Regions from separate parts of the Homo sapiens genome. Here region 1 is linked to region 2. Evidence: promoter capture Hi-C in human tissues and cell types (Jung and others, 2019). All regions are on one chromosome and are shown on one strand. The core of a region is centred on a gene start or on the middle of the fragment in contact, and the rest is flanking DNA. Distances in the headings are between cores, read along the strand shown.

Region 1 (4,594 bases), core at 906-3,405, 34 kb before region 2:
AGGCAGATGAATTTGGGAAGACTTACTTGTTTTCTAGAAATAGTCTTCACTTGACCAGAGATTCATACTTGGGCGTATTTAAATACAGAGCTCTTCTGGAGCATTTGACTAGAAGGACAGAAAACCAGAGACTAATTAACCAGTTGTTACCAGCGGGAAATCCGTTTTTGTTTGTTTGTTTGTTTGTTTGTTTTCTTTTTGAGGCGGAGTCTCGCTCTGTCGCCAGGCTGCAGTGGAGTGGCGTGATTTTGGCTCACTGTGCAATCTCTGCCTCCTGGGTTCAAACCATTCTCCTGCCTCAGCCTTCCAAGTAGCTGGGATTACAGGTGCACTCCACCACACCCAGCTAATTTTTGTATTTTTAGTAGAGACGGGGTTTCACCATGTTGGCCAGGATGGTCTCAATCTCCTGATCTGGTGATCTGCCTGCCTTGGCCTCCCAAAGTGCTGGGATTATAGGCGTGAGCCACTGCGCCAGGCCAAGAGATCAGTCTTACATGAAAATCAAGGGTTCAGTTACCCAGTGGGTCAGTAAGAGATGAGGCTTTCATTTAGAAAAACCGGAGCCTGAGGCCGGGCGCGGTGGCTCACGCCTGTAATTCCAACACTTTTGGAGGCCAAGGCAGGTGGATCACGAGGTCAGGAGTTCAAGACCAGCCTCGCCAAGATGGTGAAACCCTGTCTCTACTAAAAATACAAACATTAGCTGGGCGCAGTGGCAGGCAGCTGTAATCCCAGCTACTTGGGAGGCTGAGGCAGGAGAATCGCTTGAACCTGGGGGGCAGAGATTGTGCCACTGCACTCCAGCCTGGATGACAGAGTGAGACTCCATCTCAAAAAAAAAATTAAATTAAAAATAAAAGTAGAAAAATTGGAGCCTGTGCAGCTCTCCTGAGGGCAGATGCATAAAGCTGGGTGCGCCCCTCCAGCCTGCTGGGTCCCACAGAAGCTCAAGAGGCAGGGGCCATGTCTTTCACCACTTGTCACTGCTATAATTCCCTGTTTAGAACTCTCAGTGAGTGTCAGATCAACACATTCATCCACCATATCCCGTGTGTATAAGAACAATCCATCACTCCTGACCTAATCCAGCACAGAACAGAACTTCTGGAAGAGGACTAAAGAAGAGAAAGAGTGGAAGTGTCACATGCCCAGAGGAAAATAGATGCGACAGAGATGAATAAAACAAAACAAAACAAAAGGAAGAAAGCCAAGCTAATCTGGGAGTTCCATCACGGCTAAGAACGCATCTTTGTTTTGTCACGCGGTTTCTAGCCCGGCTCAGACCTGGGCTGCGGCACCTCAGGCATCTCCTTTCATCTCTCGGCTTTTCTCCTGGCTCCCGGGCGCTTCTCGAGACTTTTTGGACCTGGACTGGTCCATGGCAGAACACCTCTTTCCTGAGTCCTCCCTATGCACCTGCCCAAAGCGGGGGATTGGGGTGGCACTCTCCAAGATGCCAGGCTCCTCAAATGGAGCCATCACCCCCTAGGCTGTACTTGGCATTGTCTCCAAGGAGCCTGGGGAGGTAACCGGTTGGGGACTGATTCACTTGGGAGGGAGGGAGCGAGTGCAGATTGCAGATGCTATCTAGTCGGGCCAAGTCAACCTGGGGAAGGGCAGGTCTGTGTCTCAACTGGTTTAGGGGTGGGAGAGTGGGATTGGAACTTTTACACCTTGCATTCTTAGGACGTCACAATGGTTTTCCCAAGGCCTCCTTATCTGAGGGTGTTTACCTATTCAACCAGCATACGCAGGTTCAGGACTCCCACTTTGTCCGGGTTCTGTCCTCACAGGCACAGGAAGATTAATGCGAACAACAGGGTCTGACAAACCAAAACTCACAGATAAGAGACTTGGGTTATTAGGGCAGATGCCAGAAGTCATGGGATCTTCACGGGGTGGCTGTAGGCTGAGCAATCTCCCTCGGGATGTGAGGGGGTGTATTTCTGCGTTATTGGTCATTGAGAAATTCCCTAATCTTAGAGAGAAAAGGAATGAAACCAAGGGCTTGAATCGGAGTATACGTAGTTGACCTAATTATAAGGTTGTCCATCCATCTGTTTAATAAATAGTTCCATGATGTGGGACGGCAAGGTCACTCATAGCCCTGAACATTAACAACGTTTTCCTAAGGTTCTGGAAAAAAAGTGGTAACCATGTGTTCAGCTGCAGGCTTGTTCTGTCTCAGGCCTCAGGCTGACATGAATCAGAAATAGAGGGAAATGTGGAAGTGGCATTGCAAATATTAGTTCTAAAAACGGACTGGGAAGAGAGAGTGCCTCTAGACCCAGTCATGGCCTAGCCAAGCCCCAGAAGAATGACATCACCCATTGTGCCTCGTGGGGAGCCCCTGAGGCTGTCATGGATTTGTAGTCCTATGTGGGACAGCGCTGCTGACGCGGTTATTTCCTGCACTAGACCTACCCTGTCAGCAAGACACTGTTTACATGAGCTGAGTGCCAAGTTGCGGCACATTATGCACAATCGCTTTTAAGTTCAATTAAATTAACGTTTAGAAACATTGTAGATAGAAAAAGCTAAAGAGCATTTTAGCAAACAGTGATTACCTAGAGATGCAAGTGCTTTGAATTTGAGCATTAGAGAACTTGTGAATTTGTAGGAGTTAAGCAGGACAAGTACCCATCTAATGAATGTTCATAAGGGAAGCGCGCGTGTAGGAGGCATTTCAGGTAGCCCAGCGCAGACCAAGGAGGGAAGGAAACAGATAAGATGTCAGAAAACATCTTCAAATACCCAGAGTTGTTATCCCCTCCACGAAACATTGGAGGGCGAATTGTTTGGGTCAGTAAAATAGAATCATAAAGTGTGAAGAAGAAACCTGTGGAACATTCTGGAAGAATTGGTCAGAGATGGGCCGGGCGTGGTGGCTCACACCTGTAATCCCAGCACTTTGGGAGGCCGAGGTGGGTGGATCACCTGAGGTCAGGAATTCAAGACCAGACTAGCCAACATGATGAAACCCCGTCTCTACTAAAAATACACAAAATTAGCCGGGCGTTGTGGTGGGCGCCTGTAATCCTAGCTACTCAGGAGGCGGAGGCAGGAGAATTGCTTGAACCCGGGAGACAGATTGCAGTGAGCTGAGATTGCGCCACTGCAGTCCAGCCTGGGCAACAAGAGCGAAACTCCATCTCAAAAAAAGAAAAAAAAAAAAAAAGAATTGGTAAGAGATGAATACCCCATCACAGCCTCTTTGATTTCAGAGGTGAAATAGTTGAACCCCAGACCTCACTGTCAGATGTAAAGAGTCACTCCAAATTTATAAGCTCATTAAACTAGTATTTCTGACCGTTTACACATTTGGCTGTAGAGAAAATACACAGAATGCTTCCAGCCACACCTATGCCTACTCAAGCCACTTAGCTGACAAGCCACTTAGCTTTTTCTTCTAATTACTCGGGTGCGCGTCTCTGTTATTTACAAAGTTTGGTGAAGTCAGGGCAGGGGGAATTTATGGTTCGATACCCTTTCTAGCACAGAGGGGTAAAATTCAGCCTGTCTTTTGAAATCAGTCTGAACTGTCAAACTCCCAGTTGAGGACTCCTCTCCCCAAATCAGGAATCTTTTTTGTTTTCTCTGGCTATGGGCCACAGTCAGGGCTTTGGAGTTCATTTGTATGCCCTCCCCCATCCCCATTAGTGTTATTGTGTATATTTGAGGTACTTATTCTTCACTGACCATAGGTGAATAGGAGCTGGTTCACCTAAAAGCTCCCACTCCCCATTCACTTTTTTTTTTTTTTTTTTTTTTTTGAGATGGAGTCTTGCTCTGTTGCCCAGGCTGGAGTGCAGTGGTGAGATCTTGGCTCAATGCAACCTCTGCTTCCCAGGTTCAAGCGATTCTCCTGTCTCAGCCTCCTGGGTAGCTGGAATTACATGTGCCCACCACCACACCCGACTAAGTTTTCGTATTTTTAGCAGAGACGGGATTTCATCATATTGGTCAGGCTGGTGTCGAACTCCTGACGTCAGCTGATCCACCTGCCTTGGCCTCCCAAAGTGCTGGGATCGCAGGTGTGAGCCACCGCACCCAGCCCCCATTCACTTTTGTTTTAGGAAATGAGAAAGCTTCTGCCTTTTTTCTTTCCTTCCTTCCTTGGATGTTAGTTAAGATCAGTGAGGTAATGGTGATAAAGTACTTTGAATTACCTCAAGGAGAGTGCAGCCCAACTTGTTATTATTTACCTAGGTCAGTTCACAAACCCCCACGATCTAGGGTTCCTGTCTCCTGCCCTGGGGATGGTGCCTGGGAGAAAGGAGATGTCACAGACCCAGTCCCACAGGGCGCTGTTGGCTGGAGTTGGTCATTCCTTACTTTGACATCAACAGGCTTATCTCTAGAAATAGGCTAAATGGTAGCTCAGGCGCCGGTGTTGCCTCATCCCGCAAACTCCCAGGGAGGCTGCCTACTTCCAGCCCCTGTTCTGGGAACTAATGATAGGTGGGATGAAAAGACTGTTTCCTCTGATGCGCTTTTATGAGTTGTTTTCGAAGATGAGGTGGCAAGGACATGGTTAACCCGCTCCCTTGTGCAGGGAGACATCAGAATGACAGGGCACGGGGAATCTCCC
Region 2 (4,865 bases), core at 1,604-4,103:
GTCTCCCTGTCGTCCAGGCTGGAGAGCAGTGGCGTGATCTCGGCTCACTGCAAGCTCCGACCCCCTGGTTCACGCCATTCTCCTGCCTCAGCCTCCTGAGTAGCTGGGACTTACAGGCGCCCGCCACCATGCCCAGCTAATTTTTTTGTATTTTTAGTAGAGACGGGGTTTCACCATGTTCTCCAGGATGGTCTCAATCTCCTGACCTCGTGATCTGCCCGCCTCAGCCTCCCAAAGGCTGGGATTACAGGAGTGAGCCACCGTGCCCGGCCTTATTTTTTATTTTTACTTTTTGTGCCCCTGCTGGTCTGGGGTGGGACCCCTTTTTAAACACCATTTTAAATAGCTTTATTTAGATAGAATTCATATACCATCAAATTCACCCTTTTGTAAGATGTACAATTCACTGGTTTTTAGTAACCTCACAGAGCTGTACAACCATCATCACTAAATCTCAGAACATTTTCATGGCCCCAAAGAAAACCCTGTACTCATTAGCTGTCACTGTGTCTCCCTTCCCCCTGGCCCAGCACCCACTATCTGCTCTATCTCCATGGCTTTGCCTATTGACTCGTTCTTTCCTAAGCCTTCCTGTATCCCCAGCAGCCAGTGCTGCGAGAGTGTGTTTGTTGTAGCCCGATTTTACAGATGAGAAAACTGAGGCTCAGGACCCCTTGGGAAGCTGACTTTCCCTTTTACAAGCCTTGTGTTTAGTGTCTGCCCACAACTGGGCTGCATGGGGAGGACAGAAACTCAGCAGGAGAAGAAATGAGGGAGGGCGTGGAGTGGGGAATTCCCAGCTCAGCATCCGGCAGTGGCCCACACCTGGGCCCTCGACTGGGATGTTGCTGTCCCGGGTGAGTCCGGTGACAGTCTGAGCTCAGCTCCATGCCTGGCCTTGCCAGGGACAGAGCCAGCACCACCCGCCAATAGGGGAGCAGACAGGTGAGAACAGGGCCCATCCAGGGACCTGGACACCCAAGAGGGCCGAGGGTACCTGGTGTGGGGGGAGGACCAGGTCAGATGCAACAAGGGGCTGTTTGTGGAAGTCGAGGCTCCACCTCTGAGGGGCTCTGTGACTGAGAGACCGTACCTCTGTGGGCTTCCCTTTCCTCATCTGATACCCACTCTCGGTACCTGGGGTTGCTGTGAGCCTCAGTAAGTCCATGCGGATTCGTCCACTGCAGTATTGGAGACCACAAGTGGGTTCCCTCCCTCCAGACCCTCAGCCTCAAGGAGTCAAGACTCAGGCAGGAGGTGTGCAGAGGCCACGCTGTCAGAGGCTGAGCCGGGGCCAGAGCCAGTGTCAGGCCCCCTGATCCTTGGAAACCTGTCTTCTCAACTCTGCAAGAAGTTTAATGATCATTCCTGCCTCACCGTGAGGGTGGTGAGGGCCGGGGATGTGCAGTTACCAGCACCCTCTGGGCTCAGACAGAGAAACCAGACTGGCTCCTACTGCAGGCTGCCTCCCCTCCCCAGGGCTGCTCTCATCCTGCCTCTTTCATCTTGGGTTTAATTAGCCAGGCTGCCTCACCCCACAGCCTCTTGGGTGGGAGTTATCACTCCCATTTTATAGATGGGGAAACTGAGGCACCTAGAGGGAAGTAGTTTGGGGCTGCTGCCTGTGAGTCAACTGTGGAGCCAGGGCCTAGAGGAGCCGGGACCGGGCCTTCTGGCTGGACCTGTCCCTCCGAGTGGGTCTCTATCTCTCCATCCCCAAGGGCACCCAGACAGCCTCCTTTTTGGCACTCTCCACCCCTCAACTCTCCACCACCTCCCATCTGGAGCAGGATGGGGTAGGGAGAGGCCAGCTGGCACTGGCTTGCATGGGGGCTCAGGCCTGTTTCATCTTCAAAGCGGCTAATTGGAGCCAGAGGGGTGGTGAGGTTTGGGCGCCGGCGGTTCTGTGCCCTGGAAACCGGTGGTCTGTGGGGCACCTGCAACCTGGGCCTCTGGCCTGGGAGAGACCGCCGCCCAGACCCCCGAATGCCCCCAAACAGCCAGAATCCAGCCCACTGAAGTCTGGAGTGCTGGGTTCCGGCCCGGCTTGGCCCCAGATCTCGGTTGGCAAGGCCGCCCTCCTCCTGGGCCTGTTTTCCCCATCGCTAGGCATGCCTCGAGCCCCGTGACCGGCCAGGCCCTGACAGCCCGCACTTCCCGAGTATGGATCCCGTTGTTTTCGACTTAGGGCCCTGCCCCGCCCTCGCCGTCACGACCCCTGCGGGCCGCCAGCGCGGCCTCGGGCAAACAAAGGTCAGAAGCTCCTGGCTGGCCGCAACCGCGGCGCCGGCTCCTCGCCCCCAAGCCGAGCGGGCTGGGGGCCCGGGCAGGCGTCAGGGAAGCGAAGCCAAGCCCTGCGGCGCCCGCCGGACCGGTTCAGCTGGGGCGCTTTTCCTGCGGGCGCCCTGCGACCGCACCTTGGTCACCCCCAGGGGCCACTCCGGGAGCCCCAGGACCCGCACCCACGCCCCCCGGGGCCGCGCGTCTGGCGCAGGGTGCGGTGTGCCCGGGCGCCGGCGGGGGGCGCGCTGGCTGCCGCCCTGCGCGGCTTGGCGGGCGCTGGTGGGACCGGGCCGCTGTCCGCCGAGGGCCGCGGGATCGCAGCCCTGCGCCGCGGTACCCGGCATCTGGGGCCCAGGCCCACCCCGCTCCGCCACCCCTACCCACTCCCCTCCGCCTTTCCTGCCCCGGCCTGCGGCGGTTTCGGGGAAGGGGGCCTGCGCGGCGGGACAGTTAGTCAGCCCCCGCGAAACCTGCGAGTCGACACCTGCGGGAGGCGGTGGCCCCGTTACGCCCCGCCCCTCCCCGCCCGGACTCGGCCGCCCCCGCGCCGCGCCCCGCCCCGCGCCGCCAGCCCGGAAGGAGCCGGCCGGCCTGAGTGCCCGCGGCGGCTGAGTCAGGCGGCGAGCGCGGCCCGTTACCGCCGGCGCCGGGGGCCGGGGTGGCGCTGTGGTTTCGGTGCGGGCCGCGGGCGGGAGGGAGGCGGCCTAACGAGCTCTCGGCACGCACCCTCCCCCGCCCTGCTCCTGTCCTGTCCCGCGAGGGCCCCGGCGCCCAGCTCTGGCGTCGGCCCCGAGAGCCCTGGTCTCACCGTGGGAGCCGGGCGCGGGTCCCGCCGGCATCTGCGCGGCGTCTGGGGGTGACCGCAGCCCCTCGGGGTCGGCAGCGGGCCCCGCGCTCCCGGTGGCTGCGGCCTGAGGGTCCCTCTTCCCTGCGCAGGGGCCCGCGCGCCTCACCATGGGGCCCCTGAGCCGGGACGCCTGGGCCCAGCGCTTGGGGGCCTTCCGGGCCAGCCCGTCTGCCTTCATGGCAGGTCCCGAGGGGGAGGATTTGGGTCGCGACCTGCTGAGCGACCTGAGAAGTGAGAAGCTGAGCGAACAGACCAAGGTAGGCCCCCACGCGTCCCCTGCGCCGTTCCGCAGGGTCACCCCAGCCCGCCGCGTCATGAACCTCATCTTCGTGATTCCCTCCTAATCCCCCATCCAGGTTTCCCTGCTGGCCCTGAGCATGGAGTACCCTGCGCAGCTGTGGCCCGACGCCTCTGCGGCCGAAGTGGCCGCCACCTCCCTGTTGGACACCTTGGTCCTCCTACCCCCGCGGCCCTCAGCTCTCCGTCGGCCACTGCTGCTGGCGGCCACCACTGCCCTGGCGGCGGGCGGCGCGCTGGGCCCCACCTCGGGCGCCTCCTGCCGGCTCCTGCCCCTACTGCTCGGCCTGGCCGCGGGTAGCGATCTGGGGCGAGGCTTTGTCCCCGCCTCGGAACAGCGCCCCTTGCAGGCCACGGCCTGCGAGTGCCTGCGAGAGCTAGAGAGCTGCAAGCCCGGGCTGCTGGGGGGCTCCCTGGGGTTGCTGCGGGGCCTGCTGGGGCAGGAAGGCCCTGTCCAGCCACTCAGCCTGTTGCTGGCCCTCGCTTTGCGCAACACCTTGGTGCTCCAGTCCCGGGTTGGGGCTGGCCTGGGGGGACTGCTCACGGATAAGGTCTCCCCAACTGGGGGTGGTCCCTGGGATTGGACACTAGTGGAGGAGGGCGATGGACGCCTTCAGCCCCAGGCACCCAGCTGGCCGGCAGCTGAGGAGGGAGAGGGGGAGCGTAGCCTTACAGCACGAGAGCACAGCCCTGAGGAGGCGCGGGAGCTGCGGGCTGCGGTGATCCAGCTTCTGGACACCTCCTATCTGCTCACTCCTGTGGCCCAGGCCCAGCTCCTGTGGCTGCTGGGCTGGGCCCTGCGGGGTCTGCAGGGACAGCCACCGGCACTCTTCAAGCCGCAGCTGGTACGGCTGCTAGGCACAGCACAGCTGACACTGTTGCACGCCATGCTTGCGCTCAAGGCGGCCTTTGGTGAGGCCTTGTTCACAGCCCAGGATGAAGCGTTGCTGCTCCGCCGGCTCACCTTGGCTGCCCAGCACCCTGCTCTGCCTCCGCCCACCCATCTCTTTTACCTTCACTGCGTCCTGAGCTTCCCTGAGAACTGGCCGCTGGGCCCTGAAGGTGAGGAGGCTGCCCCACTGCTGCTAGGGCCCCAGCTATGCCGTGGTCTCCTGCCCAGTCTCCTGCATGACCCAATGGCCCTCCTGGCCCGCCTGCATTTACTGTGCCTGCTCTGTGCCGAGGAGGAAGAAGAGGAGAAAGGCCAGCTTCCAAGCCCACGGCACTACCTGGAAGAGCTGCTGGCTGGCTTGCGGCAGCGGGCAGCCCTGGATGGGGGCCCCCGGGCCTTGGCCACTCTCTGCTTCCAGGCCTCGTATCTGGTGGCCTGCTGCCTGGCTGGGCAACCTACGGTGCTGACCCCCTTGATCCACGGACTGGCCCAGCTGTACCAAGCCCGGCCCATGCTGGCTCCCCACTTTGTGGACCTCTTGGATCA

The links. The method cuts DNA at HindIII sites, captures the fragments that hold promoters and counts their contacts. A contact is called where the count stands out against the background at its distance.
Region 1: a contact is called between a fragment that was not itself captured here and the fragment with the promoter of AP5B1 in region 2, in 3 of the 25 tissues and cell types used here (dorsolateral prefrontal cortex, lymphoblastoid cells and spleen).

What each region holds. Positions count from the first base shown.
Region 1 is chr11:65,812,090-65,816,683 of GRCh38, reverse strand. All of the region lies in intron 3 of LOC124902693, which reads left to right. Among named protein-coding and RNA genes, the nearest start is that of SNX32, 20 kb to the left of the region's middle. The HindIII fragment of the contact is 6,430 bases long and covers 1-4,594 here.
Region 2 is chr11:65,778,964-65,783,828 of GRCh38, reverse strand. It overlaps AP5B1 (adaptor related protein complex 5 subunit beta 1), which reads left to right and starts at 2,853. Exons shown (of 2, transcript NM_138368.5): 1 at 2,853-3,387; 2 at 3,487-4,865. The coding sequence starts at 3,238. RefSeq lists enhancers at 1,482-2,139, 2,869-3,771 and silencers at 2,400-3,139, 3,180-3,359, 3,510-3,779. The HindIII fragment of the contact is 21,769 bases long and covers 1-4,865 here.